Linked DNA regions of Homo sapiens: regions 1, 2, 3, 4, 5 and 6 are each linked to region 7. The links are contacts of gene promoters, found by promoter capture Hi-C in blood cells and fetal thymus (Javierre and others, 2016). All regions are on one chromosome and are shown on one strand. The core of a region is centred on a gene start or on the middle of the fragment in contact, and the rest is flanking DNA. Distances in the headings are between cores, read along the strand shown.

Region 1 (2,962 bases), core at 234-2,733, 430 kb after region 7:
GCGAGGTGCCTAAAGTCCCATAAATATATTCCAGGAGTCCAGAGAGCAGTGGCTGTTTTATTTATAGTATTTTTGAGTATAGCATTTTTAGTGTGTGATCAAGATATTACGTTATATACAGAAATTATCATAGTTGAAAATCTTACCATTTTTCCTTAAAGCATCAAATACAATTTATAAAACACAAAAGGGAAAGAAAGCCTATGGTGCTGTCTGCATTTCATCCTGGCATAGGTGAAACTCTAGCCTCTCATTTGGCTTTTGGTGGCATACGTGGGCAGGCAGCCATGGTTTTTCAGTGGTTTTGGCTGTAGTAGGGCAGTCACTGGATAAAAGTTTTCTGGTTTTATTTTTTTGCCTTTGCCTATTGGTGTATCTGAGTTGCCAGTTTCTTTAGCTCCAAGACTACAGTATATGGGCAAAGAAACCCGTGTTTCACCCCACTCTGTTATCACATCTTTCTTCGGTTCACGAACAGTATGCTTGCTTTCTTCCACCTTTTAGAGCTTTCTCCATTTGGTTTCATGTATAATGTCCAGGGATTTTAGTTGTACTTATTGGGAAGAATAGAGACATGTATGTCTAGTCTGTCTTCCCCAGAACTGAAATGCTTGGTTGTGAATGGATTAAACTGAGCTATCTCTAATTTGCCCATTATCCAAGCAGAAATATCAAGTTACTGATATTAGTTCCCATCTGAGGCTCTACTCCAGGTGGTGGCATCCCTTCCTGGGCACTGGGGCCTTGGCTGAGGCAGCAGGGAGAGATGCTGCCACTCAGGTCTTCAGCTCCCCTCTAGCATAGTGATGTCACTACCTGTGGTGGGGAATATGATTAACAACAAAGTCTCTTGCCAACTCAGGAAATCTCTCCGGAAAGATAGAAGAGAAAGAAAACAGTTTCATTGAAGAATCATTAAACGGCATTGTGATGCACAAAACAGATAATAACCTAGCACATTGCAAGAAAGAAGGAAATCTCACCCTTGTGCATAGCCAGGCAGCTACAACCAGTGCATGCGTGTTCCCGAGATAAACAGTAACCAGTCCTCAGGGAAGGGACTTGACAGCACTGTTTTTACATGTCCCTCAAGGGTACCCACTGTGTTCACTAATCACATTTATGACAAGAAAAGACCAGTGTCTCATAGTTTATGGCAGGAGTAGGTTAGTAAGTTAGAGCCAGGCACTGGCGGAAGCTGGGCTCCTACCCTCTCATGGGAACTTGCTCCCTTAATGATTCCATTTTAGAGAGATGGCTCCCAGGCCCTTGAGAAAGACAGTCCTGGTTGGAAGTTGGTAAGCGGCTTACTTAACTTTTGGAGACTTCCATACGTCACAAGGGGACAGAGAAGAAACTCATAGGGACAAGTTTTCTTTTAAAAATGCTCTGAAAGAAAAAGGCAGGGTTCCTTTTTCCTCTTTCACTGGGACAAATTTGTTTAATTGGTGATTACCCTTGTATCTGCCAATGGTTCAGTGACCCCCCATCTTCTACTCTCCAGTCTTACCTCAGTTCAGCCACTCCCTCCTGCTCTCTGGTACTCAGCCCTGTGCCTTCCAGCCACCTTTCTCCTTATATCATCAATCCTGTTTCCTAAACTCAGGGATTTCCATGCTCTGTCGGGATCCTGCCTCACTGCACTGCCTCCTGGACGCTCTCTGCAGGCTCTGAGTTGGGGCAGCCAGGGGGTCCCCTCCCTTGGATTCAGCCTCCAGGCCACTGTCCTGTGCCCCTATCAGATACTTTCTAGCATCTGGACACATTTAGGTCACATAGTGGATCTGGCTTTCTACTTGTTTGATGCTGGAGGGAGTCTGGATCTTGTTCTTTCACATACATAGAAGGCAAAGCTCAAAACTGATTTTGAAATTCTTTGTTATTAATTTTGGACTGAGATAAATTCTCTATTACTTTATAGTGACACATATATCGTAGCTCAAAGTTTAGTAGTTAGAATTTTAGATTATTATTTTCAGTACTGTGATTTCCCGTATTTAATCAACTTATAGGAAAGGCATGATAAAGAGATTATCTCATGTTTGAATACCCTTTTCTTTAATTTTTGGATTAGCTCTCTTCCCCCACCAACTCGCAATCTTTCTGCTCTAACCACAGGCACTTTTGGCAGCCATGAATTCTTATTCTGGGCAACAGGAGTGGCTCCACAGATGATGAGTCTATGGCCTGTTATACATGGAGCTCTTGCAAGCAAGTCCTGGTGACCACAAGGTGACCCAAGGCCCCTTCTCAGGCCAGATCGCTATGCCTGAAACAAAGGAAGAACCCTTCAGGGGAAGGAATATTTAGCCTGAAAATTCTTTTGTTCACTCACTTTTCAGGTGTCTTTATCCATTATTGAGCATCATAAATATCCAGATGCACAGATGCTTCCTGATATGTCCATGAGTTTAAAGATTGGACATTACTTCGCCCAGCAATCCTCGTTTTCAAACTTGCCAAGTAAGGTTTTATCATCTCCCACCAACAGAAACAAGGTCATGCTTAGGCCTTGGTGGCATAGAGGGAGGGTCTCTGAAAGTCACTCAAATATACACTCTGAGTAGTTTCAAGGTGTATTCACTTTTCTCTGTCCCTTGTAGGCCAGTCCTTGGAGAGACTAGGAAATCCAGAGTTTCCTACAAGAATGGGGATTCCTTGGAAGAGAGTTTCACCTTGAATCAAGAAAGAGGAATCACATACTTTCAAAGGAAATTTCTCATGATCTCAAGATCTCAAGAACCAGGGGCAGAAGGAAAAGCTGGGCTGACACAATGGTGGTGGTCCTGTCTCCATTCAAAAAGCTACCACTGCCTCTAGACCCTCTCAGGATGGCAACATTTCCTGATTCCAATCCTAAAATAGGCAAAGTTGGGAGGATGCAAACTTCTCCATTCTGTGTCAGACATGTCTTAGGGAAAACCCAAATATGAATAACCAAAGAAAAGTATGAGAAAAAAAT
Region 2 (2,850 bases), core at 279-2,778, 470 kb before region 7:
TGAAGATCTTGCCCAAAACCACACAGCTAGTCCATGAAACTGAACTTGGACTATCTACCCCTCACACGGGAATCTCTCTTTGATTTGAGAAAAGGAACCAGTGCCTTTCAACTGGAACAGAAAGGAATCTGATCTCAACACCTATGCCTCCACGTAAATTATTTTTTTCAGCCTTATTTCCCTCAAAATTGTAGAGTCCTAATCTTCTTCTATCTTGTGGTGTGAGACCTTGGATAAGTCTCCCTTCCACCTTTTCCTATTACTTAAAATGGTGAATTTGCATAAACCAGGCTCTAAGGGTCTTTTCTGCACTGTTCGGATGTGTACAAATTGACATCCAAGTTTAAAGGAAGACTCTGAAACTTAGGTCAATGACTTGCCCAAGGCCATATAGCGAGGGCCTGATGTACACATATCAGGAGCTTGGGGCATCCTCAGCTCAGGAAAAGGGACCTCCTGGGAGTGCCTGCGCCCACACGGGATCAAAACGGTGCCCAGCCTTCAGAAACCTCAGCCCGAGTTCCAGGGGTAGGCCTGGGCCGCTGCTGCCCTTGTGCGGAGGCATCCCGTGAGCATAGGGCGCCATAGCCAAAGAAGCGGGCAGTGGGACCATGACGCCAGGAGGACACACCAGTCCAGTCCCGTTCCTGTAGGACCTCGTTTATTATTACAAGGCCCATTTAAGGGCACTTAGGCCCCACTAGGCTCATCAGAAAACCTTGAGGCGGTCCCTGGATTTAACCACTAATGGTGGGTTTGAGTACGGCAAAGTAGGGCACCTTCTACAGGCCTCACTCTCCCCATCTGGCAAATGGGCATCCTAAGCAGCCAGACACCCAAGGGCAATAACGGGAAGGAAAGGTACCCTGCATTTATGTGCGAGGCGGGGCAAACCGCCTGAGTCACCGCTCACGGTTGTGTTTTTCCACCTCCCGGCCGTCCCTCCCATCCGGGTGAGTCCTCGTGGGTCCTCCCGGAGGCGCCCCCTAGTCCCAGGCTCTGCACGCCCTGGCCCCGCCCCTTGACTCGGCCCCGCCCACAGCGGAATCCGCAGATTCGCCAGGTCGGATCCTCAGAATTCCTCGGGTCCCTCGATACTCGGCTGAAAATTCTCATCGGACTCTGAGAGGAGCGCTGGGCTGGAGGCATTTTCCCCAGGGACAGAAGCGGGCTATTCTCTCACTTGGGCCAGTAAGAAAAATCCAAAAAAAGTTGTCGACTCTGCCAGCAGGGATTGGCTAACGGGCCGTTATTTTCTTGACTCCACCAAGGCGGATGAAGGGGAGGCTACGGCTGAGGCCGGGAACAGTGGCGAATCTGCAGCCTCTCAGAATTTGGCAGTGCAAGGAAGGGACGGGGAAGAGAAGCAAAGCGGCGCGCATCCTGTCCAGCGATTCGCCCCGCCCGCCCGGTGAATCTGCGTCTGCAGAACGCGCCACTGAAGGTTCCCCAGCGCTGGCTGGCCTCCTCCCCTCCGCCCCGCCCCTTTTCCTCAGGGACTAGTCGCAGCTTTCGTCGCCGCCGATTCGTCAAGGTCCCGGGCCGCAGCATCTAGATCGTCGTGGCGAAGCCGACTCTCCGGGGGATGCGGCCAATCTCCAAGCTCCCTGGGCCGCAACTTCCGAGCCTCCCAGGGCGCCGGCCGAGGCGAAGCCGCTACCCTCGGCCCCGTGGGTCCCCCGGCAGCGCCTGTGGCGAAAGTGCGAATGCAGACCCTGTGCCCGCTGGGCCTCGCGCAGGTGGCAGTGGTGTTTGGTGCGCGCGCCGGGGAGGTGGTGGTGGGGGGGCGCCGCCGCCGCCACCGCTGCGGGGCCGGGTCTCGCGCTGCCGCTGCCGCCGCCTCGCGCCGCTGAGGTGCCGCGCGAGGTGGGGGGAGGGGGAGCCGCTCGCCGGGAGCGGGTGAGTGGGGCCGCGCGGCGCGCGTGCGCGGAGACCTGCTGGGGGGGGTGCAGAACGCGCCGGGGCGGGAGGAGAGGGCAGCGGTGCACGTTCCCCCCACCCCCCCGCCCGGATTCGGGGTCGAAGCCGGGTCTCGGGCTCGGTCTCGCGGTGTTTCCAACGCCCCGAAGAGGTGCCACCTTTCGGCCGGAGGATCGGGGCGCGGGGAGGAGAGCGGGTGTGTGGGAGCCGTGGCCGGGCTCGGCCCGGGCCGCTGGCCGGTGAGGAGGCGGGAGGGGGCGGGGCCTGCAGGGGGCGGGGGAGGGGTCTTGCTCCGAGGCCAAGTGGGGCGCGCGCTAGGGAGAGCGGGAAGGTAAGGGGGCTCGAGACGGGCCTGGGGGCCTGACAGTAGAGTTGGGAGGTGGAAAGAGGCTGGGTTGTTGTGGCGAAACAGAGGGTACTTGGGGGAGAATCCGGGGGAGCCCCGGGTCAGGGTGAGGGTTGGAAACTGGAGTGATGGGAGAACCTGGAATCGGGGCTAGCCAATGAGGAAAGGCAGGGGAGTCAGGCCCCAAGTCCTGATCCTTCTTGCGTGTCCCTCTTCCCCTAACAGTGTAAATGAGCAAAGATGGATCAGGAAGGTGGGGGAGATGGGCAGAAGGCCCCGAGCTTCCAGTGGCGGAACTACAAGCTCATCGTGGATCCTGCCTTGGACCCTGCCCTGCGCAGGCCTTCTCAGAAGGTGTACCGCTATGATGGAGTCCACTTCAGTGTCAACGTGAGTGCCCGGGTCTTTGGTTGCCATCCGGGGAGCTCCAGGCGCCCGTCCTCTGTGATTCTGTTCAGCACCTAGAACGGTAGCCTGCCTTCTTGAAAGTGGGCAGTTGGACCCAGCTCTTCTGCATGTGTGTGTCCAGATGGGCTGCTTGGAGCTCCCTAGCCTGGATTCACCCTGAGCTCTCTTTCTGCTGC
Region 3 (2,700 bases), core at 115-2,614, 490 kb before region 7:
ACTGTGTCTATAGGTGGGCAGGTGTGTGGCCTGGCTGTTGTGGAGTATGATACAGAAACACAACTGGGGTCCTGTGGGTGCCCCCAGGGAAAGGGGCTTCCTTCCAGCTGTGGACCGTGGAAGGGAAGTGGCTTCAAGGAAGTGGTGACAGTTAAGCTGGGAGGCAGTCGTGGCAGGGTCACAGTGGGCAGAGAGAGGTTTTGGATAGAGCAGATGTCACCGATTTTCTTGCTCACAGAAAGAGCAAAGGGGCAGGACCTAGGGGTAGAAGCTGGGTCGGGCATGAGTTGGTTTTTTTCCTTTTCATGTTTTGAATTGGAGAGATTTGCAGATGTTTATTAGTTGAGAGGAAGGAATCAGGAGAGGGAGAGGCTAGAATGCCAGAAAAGCAGGATGAGGGTAGGAGGGAACAGGAGAGCGAGTGGCAGAGGGGTGAAGGTGTTCGGACTGAAGCCTTGGTGTCTGTGCCCTCAGCCTTCTCTAAAACGTCACACCAGGGCTGGGCCCAGTGGCTCACGCCTGTAATCCCAGCACTTTGGGAGGCTGAGGCAGGAGAATTGCTTGAGCCCAGGGGTTCAAGACAAGCTTGGGCAACATAGTGAGACCCCCATCTCTATTAAAAAAGAAAAAATTAGCTAAGCATACCTGTGGTCCCAGCCACATGGGAGGCTGAGGCAAGGGGATCACTTGAGCCCAGGAGTTTGAGGCTGCAGTGAGCTATGATTGCATCACTGAGCTCTAGCCTGGGCGACAGTGAGACTTTGTCTGAAAAAAATAATGAAATGACACACTGGGCCTCTGGAGTAGGTCTGGCATTTTTCAGTGACACAAAAATATGGCTTAATCCCTCTGTGAGTTTTGGAAAGGAAGTCTTTCCATTGGAAGGAAGTCTCTCCATCGGGTGCTTTTTTTCTTTTTTGAGATGGAGTCTTGCTCTGTCGCCCAGGCTGGAGTGCAGTGGTGCAGTCTCGGCTCACTGCCAGCTCCGCCTCCTGGGTTCACGCCATTCTCCTGCCTCAGCCTCCTGAGTAGCTGGGACTACAGGCGCCTGCCACCACGCCCGGCTAATCTTTTGTATTTTTAGCAGATACGAGGTTTCACCGTATTAGCCAGGATGGTCTCCATCTCCTGATCTCGTGATCCGCCTGCCTCGGCCTCCCAAAGTGCTGGGATTACAGGCGTGAGCCACTGCGCCTGGCCACTATTGGGTGCTTTTTCTAACACTTCTCTGATACTTATCTCCCTGTTTAACAAAAGTAGTCTTCAGGTAGTAGCCTAAAGCCACAGCAACACCTGGCTAGGATTTAATAACTCTGGTCTTTTTTGTGTTTTATTTATTTATTTATTTATTTTTGAGACAGAGTCTCGCTCTGTCACCCAGGCTGGAGTGCAGTGGCGCAATCTCGGCTTACTGCAAGCTCCGCCTCCCAGGTTCATGCCATTCTCCTGCCTTAGCCTCCCAAGTAGCTGGGACTACAGGTGCCCGCCACCACGCCCGGCTAATTTTTTGTATTTTTAGTAGAGATGGGGTTTCACCGTGTTAGCCAGGATGGTCTCAATCTCCTGACCTCGTGATCTGTCCACCTTGGCCTCCCAAAGTGCTGGGATTACACCACACTTGGACTTTTGTGTTTATTTTTAAGATTAACATATTTATGTGAAACAATACTGGGGTTTTTTTTTTTGTTTTTTTTTTGAGACGGAGTCTCGCTCTGTCGCCCAGGCTGGAGTGCAGTGGCACGATCTCGGCTCACTGCAAGCTCCACCTCCCAGATTCACGCCATTCTCCTGCCTCAGCCTCCCGAGTATCTGGGACTACAGGCGCCCTCCACCACGCCCAGCTAATTTTTTGTATTTTTTTTTTAGTAGAGACGGGGTTTCACTGTGTTAGCCTGGATGGTCTTGATCTCCTGACCTAGTGATCCACCCACCTCGGCCTCCCAAAGTGCTGGGATTACACGCATGAGCCACCGCGCCCGGCAACAATACTGGTTTTAAGTGCAAAGAGGAGATGATTCAAAGATAAATCATGTTACGCAGATAAGTGAACAGCAAATACTGGAGCTTGGGAATCACTGCCCCAGCCCAGGGCTTCTACAAGGAAAAGCCTTTCAGAGTCATGAGGGCAGGGAGGGAGGCAAGAGAAAGCTTCCCTTGGGAGGCCAAGGGAAGGATCGCTTGAGCTCAGGAGTTCAAAACCAGCCTGGACAACCTTGTCTCTACTAAAAATAAAAAAATAGGCCAGGCACAGTGGCTCACGCCTGTAATCCCAGCACTATGGGAGGCCAAAGTGGGCAGATCACCTGAGGTCAGGATTTCGAGACCAGCCTGGCCAACATGGAGAAACCCTATCTCTACTAAAAATACAAAAAATTAGCCGGGCGTGGTGGCGCATGCCTGTAATCCCAGCTACTCTGGAGGCTGAGGCGGGAGAATCGCTTGAACTTGGGAGATGGTGGTTTCAGTGAGCCAAGATCACACCATTGCACTCCAGCCTGGGCAACAAGAGCGAAACTCTGTCTCAAAAAAAAAAAAAAAGTCAGGTGTGGTGGCATGTGCCTGTAGTCCCAGCTACTCAGGAGGCTGAGGTAGGAGGATGGCTTGAGCCCAGGAGTTTAAGGTTGCAGTGAGCTGTGATCGCAGTACTGCACCCCAGCCTGGGTGACTAAGCAAGACACTGTCTCAAGAAAAAAAAAAAAA
Region 4 (2,938 bases), core at 66-2,565, 420 kb before region 7:
CTGGCGTTCACCCGCACGCAGACTCACAGCTGAGCCGCACTGACATGTGTGGACACACTGGCTTTCAGCTGCACCCCTGAGGACATTTGGGAGGGCTCACTGGGCTTGTTCTTCCAGCTTCTCCGAGCCTCATGTCTGCACACACACTCAGAGCTGGACAGGAGAGGCTGTAGGGGAGGTGCCCTGTGCTACACACACCTGAGTCCTTCTCTGCTTGGGACAGAGGTCTGACAGCAAAATCTGAGTCCATCAAGCTTAATGACATCTGGAGCCCTGATCAGCCCCAGTGGAAATGTATACAGAGTTCATTCTGATTTCCAAAAAGAACCCAGCCAGAGCTCAGACAGAATCCAAACCCCAGAGGCTGGGTGAAATCAAGACAGGATCCAAACAGCATCCACCTGGGGGTGTACTCAGTTGGAATCCAAAAAGAAGAGCTTGCCAGGGTCCCAGCGGAACGCAGACAGGGCCTAACAGAAACCAGACAGGCTCAGACTGAACTAGCCGAGGCTCACACGGATCCCAGACAGATCCCAGACAGCTCAGATTGAACCTAGACAGGGCCAGATGGGACCTAGGTGCAGTCCACACAGCCAAAACTCAGGATCAGCAGTGCCCCACAGCCCCAGGAAAAGCCAGCACAGCCTGGGGGGCCTCCAGCTCCACGCTCCTGAGCCACCCCAGCCTCCCTGCTAAGCCCAGCCCAAATGGAACTCCAGGGAGTCTTCACACAGACGCTGGGCCCACACTGTGTCGGAAAATGTGTTCAGCACTTGTGTTGAATTTCCAGACAATCCCAACCATCCGCCTGGAAAGGGAGTTTCCTCTGTCTTGGCTCACAGCTGCCCCCAGAAAGTGGGGCGGCACAGGTGGCATAAGTTGGGGACCCTGAGAGGCTCTGGGATGCTGGGCTCACCTCTGAGGACCCATCGGCCTACCATGATGCTCTTCACTTTCTCTGTCCTCAAAATCCAGCTGTGCTACAAGGCCTCCTTCCCCTAGAGCCAAAAGCCTTCCTCTGCCCTTTCTCTCCCTTCAACCACTCACTCAGCCACCAGCCTCACGCAGGTCATGCGGCCTCTCCCTGGCCCGGGTGCCTGAGGACTTTCCTGTTCTCTGTGTCTCTCCCTTCCCCATGCTAATGTTAGGAAGTCTTTCCTAAAATCTAATTTCAATCTCTCCTGTTGTTCTTGGAGCCACCTCCCTTAGGTTCATCTCTGGAGCACCCTGGGCTACCTATTTGTTTGCCCTCAAGACAGGAAGAATGATAGAAGGCCCAAGTGTGGTTTATTTGGTATAATAAATACAAAGAGAGCTGGGAGCTAATAATCCTCTACCATTTACAAACACTTTTACATCCATAATCCGTTTTGATCCTCAGCACCACCAGCCCTGAGAGAAAAGCTGCATAAACATCATCGTCCCCATTTCACAGATGAGGGAACAGGAAGCCAGGGGGGTAAAAGGAGAGTGACTTGCCCAAGGGCACCCAGGCCACATAGGGCCAGAAAACCATGGGCATCCAGCCCCTCAAAGACCGCTGTTAGGCTCCAGACTGGGCTACCTCCCCCACTGACTTTCCGCTCCCAGTTACTTTCCCTCTCAGTGAGCGCCTGCTAAGTCCCAATCTGGGGAAGGCTCTGTGTCCGGACAACCTAGCAAAACAAGAGCACTTGATGGTATTTTTTGCGTAAGTCTTACATTCTTGTTATCTCATTTAATCTTCATTAGGACTCTGTAAGGACCATTGGCCAACATAATTATACTTATGCAAATATTTAGATGATGTTTTACAATGTGCCAGGCACTGTTCTATGTGCTCCACATATATCTATCCATTTCATTCTTACAACAGTCCCCTTGGAGGTATTATTATAGCCCCCTTTTATAGATGGGGAAACTGAGGCATAGAGCTAAATAACTCAGGCCAGTTGTAGTGGCTCACGCCTGTAATCCCAGCACTTTGGGAGGCTCTGGTGGGAGGATCACTTGAACCCAGGAGTTCAAGACCAGCCTGGGCAACATAGCAAGATCATGTCTCTACAAAAAATACAAAAATTAGCTGGGCATGGTGGTGCGCACCTGTAGTCTCAGCTACTTGGGAGGGTGAGGTAGGAGGATCCCCGGAGCTCAGGAGGTCAAGAGACTGCAGTGAGCTGTGATTGTGCCACTGCACTCCAGCCTGGGTGACAGAGCAAGACCCCGTTTCTTAAAAAAAAAAAAAAAAGAACTTGCCCCAGGTCAGCTGTTAGAAGACCATTTGGCTCTACCCCTGAGCCTAGTCTCTGCATTTGCTGAGTGGTAACAATGCCTACCACCGGCTGATTCCATGTTACAGACAAGGAAACAGGCTCAGAGAGGTTGCCTGACCTGCCTAAAGCTTCACAGCAAATGAGGCCAGAGGTAGGACCTGAACCCAGGACTGTCTGGCACTAAATGTCAGGCTCTCTCCCTTCTGTCCTGCTGACAGATGGCAGTCCCTCCTGGTCCTAAAAAGCCCACTCTGCCATGTCCTCAGGACTGCTGAACTCCTGCAGCCAGGACAGAAAATCAGTAGGAGGGGCCCAGGGCTGCAGGAAGAGCTTGGACAGGAGGCCATCCCTCCCAGCCTCCGTCTGTCTTGCTGTGTGACCCCAGGCAAACTTAGACTCCTCCCTGGGCCCCAGTTCCCTCATCACTGAAATGAGCAGACTGGTGCAAGTGCCCACCCTGCTCTGAAGGGCCCTCCGTGCTCTGAGTGATGCATATTTAGTAATGAGTACAGCATCCATTTCTGGAAGAAGTTAGGCCAGCCAAAAAGAAAGCAGGCTGTGGGCAAACCAGACTACCTAGGAAAAGATGATCAAATGTGCCCCAGTCTACTTTATGGTGGCCTCAGGTTACAGGTGAACGATTCAAGCCTCAGTTGCCTCATGTGCAAATCGAGGATGTAACATAT
Region 5 (2,892 bases), core at 393-2,892, 440 kb before region 7:
TGGCTGGCAGGCGTGCTCAGGGGCAGGAAGTGGGGGACTCTTCCCTGACCATCGCATCTCACCCTGGCAGATGGTGGCCGACATGCGGGAGAAGCGCTACGTGCAGGAGGGCATTGGCAGCAGCTACCTGTTCCGGGTGGACCACGACACCATCATCGATGCCACCAAGTGTGGCAACCTGGCCAGATTCATCAACCACTGCTGCACGGTGCGCCAGGGGCCAGCCGGGGCAGGAGTTGGGGGTCGGTGGGGGTGGCCACGGCTCACACGCCCTTCCATCCGCAGCCTAACTGCTACGCCAAGGTCATCACCATCGAGTCCCAGAAGAAGATCGTGATCTACTCCAAGCAGCCCATTGGCGTGGACGAGGAGATCACCTACGACTACAAGTTCCCACTGGAAGACAACAAGATCCCGTGTCTGTGTGGCACAGAGAGCTGCCGGGGCTCCCTAAACTGAGGTGGGGCAGGATGGGTGCCCACACCCCTATTTATTCCCCCTGGTGCCCTGAGCTCCCAGCACCCCCCCAGCCTTAGTGGGCTCAGCAGGGCCCACATGCCCCCATCTCCAAGCGTGGGGTTGGGGGCCCCAAGCCCAGCGAGGGAGCCTCAGTCCCTGGAGGCAGCTTCTGCCTCTCCTGTCACCCCTGCCCACCACCCCCTGATTGTTTTTCTTTGCGGAGAAGAAGCTGTAAATGTTTTGTAGCAGCCAGCAGCTGTTTCCTGTGGAAACCTGGGGTGCCGGCCTGTACAGATTCTGTCCTGGGGGGCTACACAGTCCTCTTGCTTTGTGTTAATGGGGACTTCCCCTTACGCCCTGCGTGTACCCCTCCCCAGTTTAGGGGTCTCTGGGGCAGTGGCCATGTTCTCCCCCTGGGGGGGCTCTGCACCCCCAGTCCTGGGGACTCCGTGCCTGGAACCCTGCCTCATCTGTTCCTGCCAGACCCTGAGGGTCACCCTTCCACCCTGGTGTCACTCCCCGGCTCAGCCAGGCCAGGATGGCGGGGTGGGTCCCTTTTGCTGGGCTGGACTGTACATATGTTAATAGCGCAAACCCGACGCCACATTTTTATAATTGTGATTAAACTTTATTGTACAAAAGTGTTTGGTCGGTGTATTTGGGCAGGAGCGAGGGGTTGGGGGTAGAGGGCACGGAGGGTTGTGCAAGTTGAAGAGAGGGAAAAGTGGGTACCTGAAGTGTGGGGCAGGTAAAGGGGCCTTCAGGCAAGAGCCCAGACCTGCAGAGACAGTCCGAGACTGTCTCGGACCCCCTGACAGGCTGCAGCAGCCGCACCCGCACCAGGAATACCCCACCAGTGCCCGCCAGGGTGGTGCCAAGGTCAGGCCTCCCCTTCCTACAATCACAGCTGCAGCTGGACCTCCGGCCTCCTGGGAAGCCCAGCAGGAGGGAAGGCCTGAGGTCACACTGTGGGATGAGGTCACCGCTGGCTCCACCCACAGCCCCAGACCCCTTCAGCCCACTCTGCAAGTTCGAGCTTCATCCCCACCAAGTTCTCCGCTGGACCCAGATGCCAGTGGAGCACAGAGCGGCCGCCAGGGGGCGCCTTGGGGCAAGAGTGGTGGGGGTTGTGGCTGGGCGGGTCTCTGTTCCTGGAATGGGGCAGGAGGGAGAAGGAGGAGCCAGCGGAAGGACGGTGTGCGGGCCGGCCAGCCCTGGACGAAAGAAGAGGGCCCCTCCAGGCCAGTCTGGGCACCCTGGGATAGCGGCTGCAGGTAGGCAGAGGCGCTGCCAGTGCCCAGGTGGCCTTTCCCTCCATCCGGCCCTTCCCACCTTCCTATAACCTTCCCTCCACCTCCCTCAACTCCTGGCCTCCCCACCCTTTTACTGCCTTCAAATCTCTCTCCCTAAACCCTGACCCCTTCCTGCACCCCAAGCCCGCCCCTCTCTCCGTAACTCAGCCATCAGCAGGGGCAGACGGCAGGTGGCCTGGTTGCTGCAGCTCCCAGGATCAGCTCTGCCCTCCCCGCAAACGCCAGCCTCGTCACCGCTCCAGGGCACCTCCAGCAGTAACAGGTGGTTGCAGCAGGTGGCAGCCAGCCCCTGGATGAGCCAAGGTCTCTTCCCCAGCCAGGCATGGCCGACTCTGCACAGGCCCAGAAGCTGGTGTACCTGGTCACAGGGGGCTGTGGCTTCCTGGGAGAGCACGTGGTGCGAATGCTGCTGCAGCGGGAGCCCCGGCTCGGGGAGCTGCGGGTCTTTGACCAACACCTGGGTCCCTGGCTGGAGGAGCTGAAGACAGGTTCTTGTTGGGGGAGCTTGTGGTGGAGAGGGTGTGGACGCTTCCCCAACCCTTCCCAAGCTGGGATCCCCACCCCTGCAGTGGAACAGATGATGCTGGTTTCTGTCCACATGGATGGGTCGAGTGAGTCACATTGGGAACGTGACTCCAGGGTGGAAGATGAACCCAGCCTCTGGCCTCTGGCCCCAGCTCTGACATGGCCTGTGTCCTCCAACCCCGGCCAGGGCCTGTGAGGGTGACTGCCATCCAGGGGGACGTGACCCAGGCCCATGAGGTGGCAGCAGCTGTGGCCGGAGCCCATGTGGTCATCCACACGGCTGGGCTGGTAGACGTGTTTGGCAGGGCCAGTCCCAAGACCATCCATGAGGTCAACGTGCAGGGTGAGGAGCTCTGGACACTCCTGGCCATCTTGCCTGTTTGTTCCCCACTCTGTCTTTGGCCTTGACCTCCGGTGACTCCCCTGGGACAAGTTGTCCTATTGACAGCCCTGCCCCCGCCTCCCCTGACCTGTCATGGTTTTCCCTGGACCTGGGATGGGGAGGAGGAAGATGCAGAGAGGGAAGAAGCTGCAGCTTGGATACGCCTCCTCCTCTGCCAGGTACCCGGAACGTGATCGAGGCTTGTGTGCAGAC
Region 6 (2,700 bases), core at 153-2,652, 460 kb after region 7:
GTATCCGTGCTGTTTTCCAAATGCTGACTTAGACATAACTGTCTTCTCCAGTCTCTGTATCTGTAGACTTTAAATGGCTGGCAAAGGGTGTGATCTTTCAGGACAGTGGTTGGTGGTCCTCACTGTGAACGAAAAGTATTTTTGTTGTGATTAGAGTATTGGGCGTAAGGGACTCTGTGCTGTGTCTGCTTCCTCTAGCTGAGTGCTATTGATAATGGGTCTAGGAGGAGCAACATCAGCATTGACAGGGGACTTGTTAAAGAAGCCAGTTCATGGAAACTTTCCAAACCTGCAGAATCACATTACTTAGAGGGGGCCCAGAATACCAAATGATATGTATGCGTATTGAACCTTGAGAGGCAATGCTTAGCTAAGTGATTCTCAGCCCAGGCTTCTAAGTAGGGTCACATAACCAGTTTGAAGATCTATGGTCACCTGTATCTTCCCCCACAGATTGTTTTTTTATGATTATATTAAGATTATGATTTACTGTTCCCCTCCGCCCATATCACAGCAATGATTATGGGCCCATCTGTGCATTAGCACTGGTACCAATTTGTCTTATTACAGACGATGCTAACTTCATTCACTTGGTGCAGGTGCTCTCTGTCAGATTCCTTCGCTATAAAGTTAATCATTTTTCTCTTTGTAATGAGTATCTAGGAGGGAGGATTTACTGAGTGATGTCTATAAACCATCACATTTAATCCAGAGACTCCCATTTCTTTTTGGTTTCCCTTTGCTTGTAGCTTTCTTTGCAGAGTAAAGGCTCTCACATTTGTTGACAGGAGATAACAGCTTTTAAGACTGGAAGTTCTGAAGCAGGTCTCAGTTCTGTAGGTTTCCATTTTATTTCATCTCATGTCACAAGCATATGCTTATTTATTCTCTATATTTTCAGAGAAAGAACAAGAATTAACATATAACAAATATGTCTATTGTCTTAAAATTCTAAAATATATAATAGCACATAGAATAAACATAACAAAAACTTGAAAAAAAATACCAGACTCAGAAACAAGAGCCTTTACTTTATTTCATTGTATGTATTGGTCTTTATAAAGGCATCACAAAAAAGGCATCACCCACAAAGAGTTTTATAGTTTTTATACAATTTAAAATATTTTTAAATTTTATTTACACAGAAATATTATCTTACTTTTAGTGTGTATATAGTTACCATTATGTGCACATATGCACATAAAATGAAAGCATTATTCGATCACTATTGTGTGGCTGCTTTCTTGTTTTCGTTACTCAGTTACGAAATCTTCTCTGAACATTCTGTTAAGGTTGTCTCTGTATATTGGCCGGTATGTCCCTTTGAGATAAATTCTAAATCAGATAAACTGAGGCAAAATACAAACTACTATGTAGCAAATATTTGGAAAATAATTTTTATATAAGAGGAAGAATATAATTTTTCTCAGATTATTTATTGGGTTTTATATATGTAAACAACTTTTAGGATGATATCTGATATATTGTGCATGTTCAAAAAGGATTACTACCATTCTAGCTGTTATAACTTGTAAATTTCATAAAACTCTCAGTTTCACATCATGCCTGAATTCTTTCCTCAGTGTTCGACCTCTCTGCTATTCAAAAGTGGCTTTGGGGCCTGAAGCATTAACACTACTGGTGAACTTGTTAGACATGCAGATACTCAGCCAGCCATGGTGGCTCATGCCTGTAGCCTTAGCTACTCAGGAGGCTGAAACAGGAGGATCGCCTGAGCCCAGGAGGTTGAGGCTGCAGTGAGCCAAGATTCAACCACTGCACTCCAGCCTGGGTGGCAGAGCGAGACCCTGTGTCAAAATTAAAAATTAAAAAATATGGAAATGCAGAAACTCAAAATCTAGATCTCCTGAATCAGACTCTGCCTTTGAAGAAGATCTCCAGTTTATTGTTGTATACTATACAATTTGAGAAGTATGCCTCTAAGTCACCATGACTTTTGCACCTGAGAATTATACACAGCTGATTCTGGATGATGTAAATATAGCACCCAAAAATGTATATTCCTGTGTTGATGCCTTAGTTTTATATTTTACATTTGATATAAATATCTACACTAGTTTTGTGGATTTTATGTTATTTTCTTTCCACAGAGTTTGAGACTACATTAGAAAATATTACTGTGTTAAAAATGATCTTACTGAATAATTCAGGTCACTCATATATGTCAGAACCAATAACTGTCATTTCATCTTGGGACAAATGAAGAACTCTGCCATGGCCACATGGTCAGTGTATTCTTTATTTTTATTTCAGGGACTGTTGACATTCAGGGATGTGGCCGTAGAATTCTCTTTGGAGGAGTGGGAACACCTGGAACCAGCTCAGAAGAATTTGTATCAGGATGTGATGTTAGAAAACTACAGAAACCTGGTCTCTCTGGGTGAGGATAACTTGCCTTCGGAATATCTAATAACTAAGAGTTTTATTTTCTTTTCAGAATGTCCCTTGGGATCTTGTGCTTTGTATGAGTTAGTTTTAGATTCTTGTTTTCAGGAAAAAAATAGGGGTTTTGTTGAAGTAGAAAAAATTTCATAATGTTTGATTTTGACATTCGCCTTTTTATTTGAGGTGATGTACAAGTTTCACTCTAGTCGTGATTCTAGAAATTGGTTGACATAAACTATTGTTGCTTACACTTTAAAATCCAATTTTTTTTGTTTGTTTTTGATTCAGTCAGAT
Region 7 (2,902 bases), core at 373-2,872:
ACTCCTGTCCCCCTTGAATGAGGTACTCAGAAGCCAGGAGAGCCAGGCTAGGAGCATGTGATTTCCCATATAGAAGACTCATTAAGAAAGATTATAGGCCGGGCGCGGTGGCTCACGCCTGTAATCCCAGCACTTTGGGAGGCCGAGGCGGGTGGATCATGAGGTCAGGAGATCGAGACCATCCTGGCTAACAAGGTGAAACCCCGTCTCTACTAAAAATACAAAAAATTAGCCGGGCGCGGTGGCGGGCGCCTGTAGTCCCAGCTACTCAGGAGGCTGAGGCAGGAGAATGGCGTGAACCCGGGAAGCGGAGCTTGCAGTGAGCCGAGATTGCACCACTGCAGTCCGCAGTCCGGCCTGGGCGACAGAGCGAGACTCCGTCTCAAAAAAAAAAAAAAAAAAAGAAAGAAAGATTATAGAGAATTATCAAAAGATTCCAAATCCAGCATTAGGTCCCAAGGCCTCACACACAGGACTGTGGAGCCTCCGTCTGAAATCCAGAGAGCTGGGATTCACAGACACCAGCAGCTCAGGTGTCAGGCAAGAAGTGGGACTTCAGGATCTGCAGCCCTGGGCTCCCATGGGGGCTCTGCCGAGCTGCCGGAACTTGGACAAGTCATTTAATTCCCAAGAATCTCAGGTCTTCCTCGGGAGAAGGTGAACTAAATTTATACCCTGCTCCCAGCGTTACTGTGAGGATTCGGTGTACGCGGAAGCCCATTACAGCCTAGAGCCCTAATTATTAATAGGTGTGTGTGAGAGGGAGGCCTCATTATTACCAGGTGAGAGACAGGGAGCTGGGATCGCCTACCTGTGAGTGGAGGAGGCTCCCTCGAGCACCTCCGTATCAGCGGCGTGGGAAAAGCACGTGGAGCGCCCACCGCGCTAGGCGCATGCGCGGAGCAGGAGCGCTTACCAAGCTGGGCGCATGCGCGGAGCGGGCGCCTCTGGGCGCGCTCCCCGTGGCCCCGCCCTCCCCACAGAGCCGCAGACTCGAAGCTTCACACCTTTATTGTGTCCGGGGGCGTCCGGGGCCTCAGGGGTGTTCGTAGCCCGTGGGCAGAGGGTTCACGTGGCTATTGTGGAACAGAGTGTGGTTGCCGTCCCCCCAGGGGTAGGGCTGTGGAGAGAGCGGGGGAGGGAGCGCGCGTGAGCGCCGTGAGTCCGGAGTCCGCGCCCCGCGCGACCCCCCCCCCGCAGCACCCCCCCCCGCCCCCGCAGCACCCCCCCCCGCCCCCGCAGCACCCCCGTGCCGCCCGCGCGCCCGTCCCGCGTACCTTGGTGCGGATGCGGAGGTGTTGGTAGGGACGGAACTCGGGGCGCGGGCGGTGGCCCGAGTGGAGATAGGAGTTGAAGGTGCAGAGGGCCACGCTGGGCAGCGCCAGCACGAAGGTCAGCAGACGCCAGGTACGAGCTGCGGACGGAGCGGGGTGAGCGCGGCGGTCCTGGGGCGGCGGGCCTGTGAACAGGTGGGCAGGGTAGGGGAGCCCCCGGATCCGCCCGTTCCCCACTCACCTCCTGCTCCTCCGTGGCCTCCTTTGGCAGCGCTGGCCAAGCCCCGGGTCAGGGGCCTCAGAGGCAAAGCCATGATGGTGCGGGGAGCCGGGAACCAGCGCTGTCCTCGCTCCCTTTCCTGGGGCCTGGGGTCACCTCCCCTCTCTGGGCCAATCACCTGTTGAGTCTGGAGCACTGGCGGCTATTCTTAGGGGTTTCTATATTTAAAATGGGGCCTGACTGGCTTGAGGTCATCTCCAGACAGCTGTTGTCCTGTGCCTCTTATTTTGGCAAGGAGGCATTTAAGTACAATATGCCATTCTTTTTATATAGTTGCAGGGAAACTATTTTGTTCCCTATTCTATGCCTGGTGGCTGGCACACAGTTGGGCTTTAATAAATATTTGTAGAATGAATTAAGTGTCTTTTTGAGTCTCAGTGTTTTCAGCTGTAAAATGTATAATAATTCGTACCTTAAAAGATTTTTTAAATACTGGAGACGGGGATCTCACTATATTGTCCAGGCTGGTGTGGAACTCTTGAGCTCACGTGATCCTCCCGCCTCAGCCTCCCACAGTGCTGGGATTACAGGCATGAGCCACTACACGGCCCTTACATCATTTTTATGAAGTTTATGTAAGGTAGGAATGTGTCAACCTGGATTTTGGCAGGTAACAGTAGTTCAGTATATGTATTAGTCACAGTTCTTTGCAAAGAACAGAACTCACTCTTACTAGTTTTAGAAGATAAGTAATTGAGAATCTTAGGTAGCTTACTATGTCTGATATAGCCAGAGATGCCTACAGTCTGCACAGTCATAAACAAGTCATTCCGTTGGCCAGCTGCAGTGACACCCCCACAGCTCACACTGCTGGACCCTGGATGCCAAAAGCTTCATTAAGGCTGCCCTGGAAAACCAGAATTTTCCACCCTCATCCCCTCTTGAAAACAGATTCTTCATGAAACCTGTATCCTGGGTCGCTCTTTTCTGAAAGAATTATGTGATTGCACCAACTGGCAACCCCTAGGTCCCCCAGCTGCAGGAGGGGATGGGAAACTGAGCTCTGGATTCTGCCTTAGGGAGGCAGGAATTGTAGGGAAAATCTCCAGGTCTAGGATGAGTATTCAAAAGGTTCCAGGCAGCCACAAGCCTGACAGGTGTCTACTGCAAAGTGCATTATTTCAATCTGAAAAATATGACTACTTGGAGAAAGCAAGCCTAGACAGGGCTGGTGTGAACCCTCTATCAAAGCAGGTCACAAGAAAGCCACAAGACCAGGCAGGGATGACATCTGCCTGTTCTGTCCTCAGCAACGGGCAGGGACCTTGGCATGAAGGAGGTGTTCTAAAAATATGTATGTAATGAATGCTTGAACCTTGTTACTTTGGTTAACCCTACAACAATGCCT

Evidence for each region. The method cuts DNA at HindIII sites, captures the fragments that hold promoters and counts their contacts. A CHiCAGO score of 5 or more calls a contact.
Region 1: a fragment that was not itself captured here is called in contact with the fragment with the promoter of COX6A2 in region 7 in 4 of 17 cell types (total CD4 T cells, M1 macrophages, activated CD4 T cells and 1 more); the score reaches 7.0 in total CD4 T cells.
Region 2: a contact is called between the fragment with the promoter of SETD1A here and the fragment with the promoter of COX6A2 in region 7, in 4 of 17 cell types (monocytes, total CD4 T cells, total CD8 T cells and 1 more). The highest score is 5.7, in monocytes.
Region 3: a contact is called between a fragment that was not itself captured here and the fragment with the promoter of COX6A2 in region 7, in 5 of 17 cell types (monocytes, naive CD4 T cells, total CD4 T cells and 2 more). The highest score is 6.8, in monocytes.
Region 4: a contact is called between a fragment that was not itself captured here and the fragment with the promoter of COX6A2 in region 7, in 15 of 17 cell types (monocytes, naive CD8 T cells, total CD4 T cells and 12 more). The highest score is 13.3, in monocytes.
Region 5: the fragment with the promoter of HSD3B7 here is called in contact with the fragment with the promoter of COX6A2 in region 7 in 11 of 17 cell types (naive CD8 T cells, activated CD4 T cells, total CD8 T cells and 8 more); the score reaches 11.0 in naive CD8 T cells.
Region 6: a fragment that was not itself captured here is called in contact with the fragment with the promoter of COX6A2 in region 7 in 1 of 17 cell types (erythroblasts); the score reaches 6.0 in erythroblasts.

What each region holds. Positions count from the first base shown.
Region 1 is chr16:31,860,773-31,863,734 of GRCh38, forward strand. It overlaps the pseudogene RBM22P13. Among named protein-coding and RNA genes, the nearest start is that of ZNF267, 12 kb to the right of the region's middle. The HindIII fragment of the contact is 9,415 bases long and covers 1-2,962 here.
Region 2 is chr16:30,956,226-30,959,075 of GRCh38, forward strand. SETD1A (SET domain containing 1A, histone lysine methyltransferase) reads left to right here and starts at 1,529. Exons shown (of 19, transcript NM_014712.3): 1 at 1,529-1,739; 2 at 2,492-2,656. The coding sequence starts at 2,507. RefSeq lists enhancers at 837-1,600, 1,058-1,187 and silencers at 1,788-2,007, 2,148-2,237. The HindIII fragment of the contact is 14,721 bases long and covers 1-2,850 here.
Region 3 is chr16:30,937,736-30,940,435 of GRCh38, forward strand. The region is part of intron 7 of FBXL19 (F-box and leucine rich repeat protein 19); the gene reads left to right. Among named protein-coding and RNA genes, the nearest start is that of ORAI3, 10 kb to the right of the region's middle. The HindIII fragment of the contact is 1,563 bases long and covers 584-2,146 here.
Region 4 is chr16:31,002,467-31,005,404 of GRCh38, forward strand. The region is part of intron 1 of STX1B (syntaxin 1B); the gene reads right to left. Among named protein-coding and RNA genes, the nearest start is that of STX1B, 6.7 kb to the right of the region's middle. The HindIII fragment of the contact is 2,126 bases long and covers 253-2,378 here.
Region 5 is chr16:30,983,565-30,986,456 of GRCh38, forward strand. HSD3B7 (hydroxy-delta-5-steroid dehydrogenase, 3 beta- and steroid delta-isomerase 7) reads left to right here and starts at 1,643. Exons shown (of 7, transcript NM_025193.4): 1 at 1,643-1,733; 2 at 2,089-2,260; 3 at 2,485-2,640; 4 at 2,859-2,892. The coding sequence starts at 2,095. SETD1A (SET domain containing 1A, histone lysine methyltransferase) reads left to right here. Exons shown (of 19, transcript NM_014712.3): 18 at 71-208; 19 at 286-1,100. The coding sequence ends at 459. RefSeq lists an enhancer at 1,112-1,624. The HindIII fragment of the contact is 29,451 bases long and covers 1-2,892 here.
Region 6 is chr16:31,882,224-31,884,923 of GRCh38, forward strand. ZNF267 (zinc finger protein 267) reads left to right here. Exons shown (of 4, transcript NM_003414.6): 2 at 2,275-2,401. Among named protein-coding and RNA genes, the nearest start is that of ZNF267, 9.8 kb to the left of the region's middle. The HindIII fragment of the contact is 4,868 bases long and covers 1-2,700 here.
Region 7 is chr16:31,426,738-31,429,639 of GRCh38, forward strand. It overlaps COX6A2 (cytochrome c oxidase subunit 6A2), which reads right to left and starts at 1,623. Exons shown (of 3, transcript NM_005205.4): 1 at 1,516-1,623; 2 at 1,278-1,414; 3 at 994-1,120. The coding sequence starts at 1,588. The coding sequence ends at 1,037. The HindIII fragment of the contact is 1,386 bases long and covers 998-2,383 here.